3 separate regions of the Homo sapiens genome follow, and all the other regions are linked to region 2. Evidence: promoter capture Hi-C in 16 types of primary human blood cells and fetal thymus (Javierre and others, 2016). All regions are on one chromosome and are shown on one strand. Each heading gives the region's core, a stretch centred on a gene start or on the middle of the fragment in contact. The rest is flanking DNA. Distances are from core to core; before and after follow the strand shown.

Region 1 (2,916 bases), core at 292-2,791, 190 kb before region 2:
AGTAAATTTCCTTCCATACAGGCATACATTACTTCATGCAATAGTTGTGAAACAAGGACCACAGGGAGATGCAAGCAAATTACGTTTAAAAGACTATGGAGTAAAATTCTTTTGTCAGGTGGATTAATCTATCCCTAATGAATCTCTCCCGAGAAGCTTTTCCCTCCAAAGGTCTATCTTTTTCCAAGACGTTTATTCAGGGAGGTATCCTTCATATCTCCCTGAAAAGAAAGAAAAGTAAATAGTGGCTAATGCTTTTAACAATGATTAAAAAAATCAGAAAGGTCAAGGCTTTAAGGTCATTTAATGTGAAGAGGAAATAAGATAAATGTTCAGCATTTAAGGATTATCACTAACCCAACTTTTCATAAACACAGAATAGTGGAGGTGGAACCTGCAGAGACTTTTATTCAGGGAACATCCACTGCGGGACAGGCAGATGCTTTGGTATCCAGGCTGCTCCGCGCCGCCAGCTGCCCAAGTAATCCTCACAACAGCCCGCAGAGGTAGGTATTAACCACCCTTTGTTTTACAGGTGAGGAAACAGAGGCACAAGACGGTCAGGTAACCGGCTTGGAGTGATGAATGAAACTAAAATAAGCGCCGACCTCGAAGCTCATTTGGTCTTTCCCCAACCCCATGCGGCCTCATTAAAGAGACTTTTTTGATTAGCTATGGAGAAAACGTTCTTCATCAAACATGAAATGCAATCCGGAAGGCACAGGTTTCTCTCTCTCTCTCTCTCTCTCTCTCTCTCTCTCTCTCTCTCTCTCTCTCTCTCTCTCTCTCTCTCTCTCTCTCTCTCTCTCTCTCTCTCTCTCTCTCTCTCTCTCTGTCTGTATGAAGTGGCTTCTGGGGCCCCACGAAGCAATGTTCCCCCAAACAGCCCCGGACGAGGGTGTCTATAATTCATCCTGTTATAATTAACCCCGGGGTTACGGTATTGCTTCTAAAGCCCTTGTTGAAATGCAGATATGGACCTCGCAGGATTGACACGATCTCTCAATTACACCTAATTAAAGAGCTGGCTCTTTGAGAATCTGACCCGACTGGGCCAGGAGTGGGAAAGGCGGGGGCTGCCGGTTGGGGTGAGGGATAGGGTTCTGCAGTCCCGGGAAGGCAGGTGAAGGGTGGGGATCAGGATTGGAAGAGTCACTGGGTGCTCGGTGAGACGAGGGAGGTTGGAGCTGAACTAAAACAAAGTTTGACTTCTGGACAATTATCCAGGGAGAGGGCGGGGAACACACCTTGCCCGGACTGTCTGGGAATCCCATTGACAGGTCATCTCAGGTTCACCATCTTCCTGTCGTGGGCTCCTCCAGGGAGGCCACCCGGGAGCAATTAAACTGGGCCACACCAGCCACCTCCCACAGCAGCGGGGTCCGCAGATTTAACCCTTTCCCCCCAGATTCCGGCACTGGGTGCCGCGCTCTCTCCCCCAGCACCGCGCCCGCGCCCCCGGCTCCCGGACTGGGCATGCTCAGTAGCCGCCCGCTTCGTGCTCCCAGGGAAGCCTCTGCACGCCCTCCCCCGCTGCTCTCGGTCGCCTCCTCGCCGCCAGCCGCCCCGGGTGCATCCCGGCTTGCTCCGCTCCACGCGACCCAGATTCCTGCCCCGCCCCCGCCCCTTCCGCGCCCGCAGCCAGTGCGGCAGCCGCGGCCGCCCCTGTCCAGCCTCGGCGCCCGGGACCGAGCGCGTCGCTCGCCGCCGCGGAGCGCGTAGCCGGAGCGCCTGGGGAAGGCGGAGATGAAGACCACGCCGCCGCGCGCCGGGAGCTGCTGAGCCTACCGCCGCCAGAGTCCAGGTGATTGGCGACCCCAGAGGAGCCTAGGGAGTAGGGGCGAATGCCCTTGGGGAGGAGAGAGGTGCGGCGAGGACGCGAGGCATCACGCAAGCTGCGCTGTGCCTGGGAGGCAGCAGAAATGCTAAGCATCGGGGGCAGAGAGGGAACGGGAATGAAAGTGCACTCTGCCTTGGTGCAGGGGCTCCGGGGTCACCCAGGACAGTGATTTCCCCTTCTATCCTGTCCTCCCAATTAACACCCGAGAGGCTGCAGGTCGGCGCGAGAGGCTGTTTGCATCTCGGCCCGGGCGTAGGTCGCCTAGCGACCTAACGCCGAGGGCTCGGGGAAGGGATCCCAGACAGAGCCAAAATGGAAGGCGGGACAAGGGCGGCCTGGCTGGGGCGAGGGGCTGGTCTGGGTCCCTGGGAACCCCTTGCCTTGTGGGCTTCGGTCTCCAGGGAGGAGCTAGGCAGCCGGGCTGCGGGGCCGCCGGACTGTGGGGTCCTCCGCGCAGCGAGCTGGGAGGAGCGGTCGGCTGGGCTGTTGAGCTGCGCCTCCTCCAACTGCTGGGAAACTCCGCACTTCAATATTGGAGCATCTCTTTCCCGGGCAGGTAGAATTGGACAGCCGAGTGGGGAGTGACAGCTGACAGCTGACGGGGCTGTTAAAAGCAGAGCAGTGGAGTGTGGTGGTGGGGTGAGCTGTTGTGGGTGCTTTTTTTTGTTTTCCAAGTGTGGGTACGGGCTGTTCTGACTCAGTGTTTATGCTCAACCTCTAAGCGGCGAGTTCGGTAACACATCTTATGAATATTTCAGGAACGACCTCACGGGCTCACTTGCTTCAGATCAAGTTTAATGAATATGTTGTCAGCCTTTCTGCTCTGCACAGTGCCCTGAGCTTTCCACATTTCATCCCTTTCCCCCACCACCTAGGAAAATACGCTGCTAACCCCCAGTGGGCCGTAGATTGGTACTATCAATTGAGTCTGTCATTTGGAGAGACCAATTTTGGGCAGGCATCCAGGCATTGTTCTGCATCTCTGCAATGTATACGTTTTGTGCCGGTGGCTTGACAACCGTCCTTAACTGGTGCTGCCAATATGGTGGAAAGCAGGTAGTATGCTTGTATTGGGA
Region 2 (2,895 bases), core at 155-2,654:
CAGGGTCTTGGTCTGTCACTCAGGCTGGAGTGCAGTGGTGTAATTAGGGCCCACTGTAGCCACAACCTTCTAGGCTCAAACAATCCTCCCACCTAAACTTCTCAAGTAGCTGGAACTATAGATGTGTGCCACCATGCCCAGCTAATTTTTTATTTTTTGTATCTCACTATGTTGCCCAGGCTGGTCTTGTACTCCTGGGCACAAGCAGTCCTCCCACCTTGGCCTCCCAAAGTGCTGGGATTACAGGTATGAGCCACCATGCCCAGCCAGCCAAAAATTAAATCTTGTTTTAAGCCAATAAGATATTTGGTGTTGTTTGTTATAGTAGCATAACCTAATTCTATCCTGCCTGGTACAAGCCTTCATTTCCTCATTGGTTAAATGGAGATATAAATAGTATATGCCTCCTTAAGATGTGAAGTTTATATAAGACAATGTATGTTTTTAAAAAACAGTCCATTGCCAGGCACATACTATTGTTAGATCAATGAGAGTTATGAAAGGGAAGTGAAAAAGCATCACCCTAGATCATCCAGCTTTTTAATGATAGAACCTGTTTCTTCAATCCTAAGCAGTCGTCTGCAGAGTCTGTAAGAGTGTGAATCATCTACTCAGATATGCAGATTCTGGCTCCCAAATATAGTCATTTTCACAAACATTCATGTTAACACCGGAATAATCATATGTTCCTCTCACTCCCCTTCTATTTACTTTGTCATTTGTCAATAGCATGTGTTCCAACCATAGAAAATATAACCTATTGAATTAAGCTTTCCTTTTTCTAAATAGGAGTAGCACTTCCTCATCAAGCATCTTCTAAAATTCTTTGTTCTGTCCCATTTACGTTATGCCAAGAAAGACTTCCTGGAAAAGATTAATATGCAATTTAGAGATATCATATTTGGGCAATGTCTTGAATATTAAATCACTTTTTGCTTTGTTACATGGTAGGATTATTACTACTTACCCAAACAAAAAGTAGTGATTCACAAGTTTAGGATCTGATAGAACATAGGAAAAAGCATAGTTAATCAACAAATACAAATGCAATATTACTGAGTTCCTGTTATTTTTAAGGCTTTATGTTTGGTTCTATGTTGAATATGTAAAAAGTGTTTGTTTCTGACCTTTCCCATTCCATTGAGATTTTGATACACTGCAAAGCAGAATAAGGCATGTCTTGGTCCATTCACACTGCCATAACAAAAATACTATAGATTAGCTGGCTCATGAACAACAGAAATTTATTTCTCACAGTCCTGGAGGCTGGGAAGTCCAAGATCAAGCTGCCAACAGAATCCATGTCTGGTGAAGTCACTCTTCCTGGCTTGTAGATACACTGTGTCCTCTCATGGTGTAAGAAGGAATGAACTTTCTGGGTGTTCTGTTATAGCAGCATAAATGGAAAAAGACAGCATGGAAACCCCAGCTACTAGCACTACAAGTTCTCTACATCACACATTGTGTACAGACTGTGGCCTCCCCAATGGGCAGGCAGTGAATGTAATAGCTGATTGAGTGAGGCATATATGGAACCATCTGAATGCTTGTTTATGGTCAGTTGGAGCTAATAATTGTTCAAATGGCCTCTTAAAATTGGTACGAATTCTTTCATTTCCTTCTCCAAAAGTGTTCACATTTTAAATTAAGATTGCTGGAAGAGGCCGGGTGCAGTGGCTCACACCGGTAATCCCAGCACTTTGGGAGGTCAAGGAGGCAGATCACCTGAGGTTGGGAGTTCGAGATCCAGCCTGACCAACATGGAGAAACCTCATCTCTACTAAAAACACAAAATTAGCTGGGCATGGTGATGCATGCCTGTAATCCCAGCTACTCAGGAGGCTGAGGCAGGAGAATTGCTTGAACCCGGGAGGCGGAGGTTGCGATGAGACGAGACTGCACCATTGCACTCCAGCCTGGGCAACAAGAGCAAAACTCCGTCTCAAAAGAAAAGAAAAGAAAAGAAAAGATTGCTAGAAGAGGAAAGTATTTAAACCGAGGATTAAGGTACATTGTAAAAGTTTGAGCATTGGGAGAAGAAAGCTTGGAACATTAAATCCTACAGGTTTGTGCATGAAGGATGGGTAAAATTTTGTCGTTCTGAAGAGGCTTTGCTTCCTCTAATGCACCATTTATATATTGCCAGACTTCTCAAAACACCCTTTAAAGGACTACTAGAGAACTGCATGGTCAGCATTATCTAATTTCCTCATAAATCTCTTGCCTTTTAATCAGCTAAGTGGCTATCTGCTAAATTTCCCTGATTTATTGATGTATTTTGAAGGCTGAGGATATGTCCAGATACTAAGTGATTAAATGTAGATGAAATGGCACATCACCATAATTATGACAGAAAAGAGAATCGTGACTAGGCATACGTAAGACCTCACAGAGACAAACTGTAGACAGCTTCTTAAAAGGGCAGCCCCCAGCGTTGCAGATAAAACTGTATTACCAAGCTAGTTTTTCCAAGAAAATCATCCCAACAGCTCTCATTAGAGATGCATTTGTATTTGCTGTCTCAGCAGTGCCACAGCAACCATGACCCCTTCAGAATTTACAGAGCGGAGACTTTGGCTGCTGACTAAACTGAAAGGTTAAAATCCTGGTTTCTGTTTTTACCTTAGCCACCAAACTCTGTGTGACCTGAGACAGATATTTCAACTTTTCTGAGACCCCAATTCTTTGTTTGTTTTTGGTTTTTGGTTTTTTTTGAGACAGAGTCTCACTCTGTCGCCGAGGCTGGAGTGCAGTGGCACTGTGTTGGCTCACTGCAACCTCTGTCTCCTGGGTTCAAGCAATTCTCCTGCCTCAGCCTCCCAAGCAGCTGGGATTACAGGCACGAGCCACCACGCCCAGCTAATTTTTGTATTTTTAGTAGAGACCTGGTTTCAC
Region 3 (2,896 bases), core at 73-2,572, 210 kb before region 2:
ATAGCAAAGATTAGAAAGAATCTAACTTCCTATCAAACGAGGCCCAATTTTAACGTACGGCACTGGTATACAGAGTTTACATATAAATCTTTAGGACACACAAGAAATTGGTGATATGGGTTGCCTCCAGGGAAGGAAAATGGATCGATGAGTAAAGGAATGAAAGGGAGCTTTCTTCTTTCATGACTTTTGAAGTTAGTAGCTATTTAAACTGCATCATCTATTTAAAAAGAAAATAAAGATTTAAAATTTTTAGAAAAAAATTCACCCCATCACTTGTCACGGCACCCCGTTTTAACTCTTTGAATAACACTTACTACATATTTTCTTACACTCTCATTAATTTGTTTATTCTGTCTTTCCCCATAACTGAATAAAGAACACTCACTCCATGAAGTAGAGATTTTGTCTCTATTGTTCACCCTGTAGCACCCAGCACTTAAACAGGATTTAGCACCTAGCAGCCACTCAATAACCATTTGTCGAATAAACCTAAATCGACTTTGCTGTCTTACCTCCTAAACCTCCCCTCCTCCAGAATTCTGAGTTTGGTGGCCTTCTTCAACGTTTTCATTAACACCTAGCATGGACCTCTATCTCTAGAGTTCTCACATGGTATTATAATTGCCTGTTTGTGTTGGGCTTCGGCCAGAAAACTGTCATCTATTTAAGGGCACAGACTTGGTGCCTGACATACAACTGACAATAAATATTCAATGAAATCTATCAAAATAACAGGCTGACGCTACCAGAGGTCCAGGAGTCGCAGGGATTGCTCAAATAAGAGCACAGGAAGACTCAGCTGCGCAAGGGATCAGATCATCAGCACTGCCTTTGCATCGATGCAATCAGACCGATTGTCACCGGTCAGAAAAGCCCCAGAAGCGCCACACTAACACGCCCCATGTTGCAACCGTCCTCTCCAACCCCAAAGAAAACAGAAGATTGACACAGGCACCACGTGAGCGCCCGAACCAAACACAAACACATGCACCCTAAACACTGAGAGAACCACCCAACGCAGACACCCTACTGCCCACACTGCACCAAGGGCGCCTCTGGGATCCATCCCCTTTCCCTAGGTTCTCAGCCCTAGCTGGCAAGGCGGATAGAGAAGACCGGAAGAGGCTGAAAAGAGGAAGCGGTGATTTGCTGCCCGTATGCCCGCCAGTAAGAAGTGCCACACACCTCCGCTTCGGCTCAGGCCGGATTCTCACCATGCGTGTGCCTTCTTCTTTGCCAGCCTCTCCACTCTAGCACCAGAACACCGCAGCGGATACTTGCACGCCATCTCCCCTGGGCGCGGCCATGTTGGAGAAAACTGCACTACATTTCCCATGAGCCCGCGGGACAACGAACAGCGCTCCCACAGTCCTCTTCGCCTCCCAGAGCCCGGGAGTGACCCTTTTTCGACCAAGTGTCTTTGTAAAGTGCTGTCTGTTACACTGAAAATTCAGTTGTCTTTTTGGGGGGAGTAGTAATAATTGGTAGTGCAGCTATATTTTTATCTGTTGCTCTCCAAATGGACAAGGTCAAACAGGTTTGGGCCCTTTGGTCTTTCAGCAATGTCCCCTGGCACCTTCTATTCTTCGTGCATATTTCCTCCTGAATCTTATTAGAGGTGAGAAAGGAAAATAAATCTTGGTGCCACAAAATCACTAAGCTAAAGGGAAAAGTCAAGCTAGGAACTGCTTGGGCAAACCTGCCTCCCATTCTATTCAAAGTCATCCCTCTGAGTCATCCCTCTGCTCACTGAGATAAATGCATATCTGATTGCCTCCTTTGGAAAGGCTCATCAGAAACTCAAAAGAATGCAACCATTTGTCTCTCAGCTGTAATACGTGCGACCTGGAAGCCCCCTCCTCACTTTGAGTTGGCCCGCCTCTGCTTCAATTTGTCCCTCCTTTCTGGACGGAACCAATGTTCATCTTACATATATTGATTGATGCCTCATGTCTCCCTAAAATGTATAAAACCAAGCTGTGCCCCGACCACCCTGGACACATATCATCAGGACCTCCTGAGGCTGTGTCACGGGCGGGCGTCCTTAACTTTGGCAAAATAAATTTCCTAAATTGTCTGAGACCTGTCTCAGATATTCAGGGTTCACAGAGATATGGGAGAGGATCCTGGGGTCTGAAAGATGGCATTGCATGGGCGGGAGGGAAGGAAGTGAATATGCATGAATGTGCCAGGGGAATGGTGAGTACCACAGAGTAATAGAAAGATGTGTGGAAGAATGGTGAAGGAAGCAAGACAGAATTCTGTAGGCCTGCAGAGTGGGAGTTGCAGGGAGGAAGGTTAGAGAAATGAAATGATATGACCAGAGCTTCTTGTGGCAAGTGGGAGGAGAGACTAGAAGATGACTGATGAAGTGAAAAGTAACGAAATATTAACAAGCCCAGTAGTGGCAGAGGGAAAGAAAAAAGAGCTGGTAACAGATCATAAGTAAAAGACAAAGGAGAGGGTGATGATTAGCAGTTGTTCCTGCTCTGTTATTTGTTATATAAATGTACCATAATCCTTCTACCTGCATTGGTTTATGAGCTATGTGAGTGCAGGGAGGGAAAGGTGTAGGGGAAGAGGAATCACCTTCCCATGTTGTTGATACAATGGCCCCTATCTGCAGTGCACCACAGTGGACTAACAATAAAATAGCTGGCTGACCAGGAAAAGTGGCAGTGAAAAAAGAGTGCTGTTGAGTGGCGGAATGATTTGTGTGGAGAATAGGTTACAAACATGAAAGAACAGAAGAGGCAGATAGGCAAGCATTGCAATAGTCTAGGAAAGAAAGGGTGAGACCAAAACTTAATAGTAAAAATGAGGAGGCAAGTGCAAGCTGGAGAGGTCAAATCCACCAGACATTGCAAGCTACATGAGTATAAGAGGACACACA

What was found. Contacts are between HindIII fragments. The CHiCAGO score rates a contact against its expected background, and 5 or more counts as called.
Region 1: a contact is called between the fragment with the promoter of ELMOD1 here and a fragment that was not itself captured in region 2, in 1 of 17 cell types (endothelial precursors). The highest score is 6.7, in endothelial precursors.
Region 3: a contact is called between the fragment with the promoter of ALKBH8 here and a fragment that was not itself captured in region 2, in 1 of 17 cell types (endothelial precursors). The highest score is 5.4, in endothelial precursors.

Annotation. Positions count from the first base shown.
Region 1 is chr11:107,589,606-107,592,521 of GRCh38, forward strand. It overlaps ELMOD1 (ELMO domain containing 1), which reads left to right and starts at 1,542. Exons shown (of 12, transcript NM_018712.4): 1 at 1,542-1,804. RefSeq lists silencers at 1,425-1,534, 1,595-1,734 and an enhancer at 1,985-2,044. The HindIII fragment of the contact is 4,180 bases long and covers 155-2,916 here.
Region 2 is chr11:107,776,751-107,779,645 of GRCh38, forward strand. No RefSeq gene overlaps it. Among named protein-coding and RNA genes, the nearest start is that of SLN, 66 kb to the left of the region's middle. The HindIII fragment of the contact is 1,273 bases long and covers 769-2,041 here.
Region 3 is chr11:107,564,413-107,567,308 of GRCh38, forward strand. ALKBH8 (alkB homolog 8, tRNA methyltransferase) reads right to left here and starts at 1,323. Exons shown (of 12, transcript NM_138775.3): 1 at 1,189-1,323. RefSeq lists enhancers at 674-1,192, 996-1,485, 1,193-1,709, 1,556-1,615. The HindIII fragment of the contact is 7,705 bases long and covers 1-2,896 here.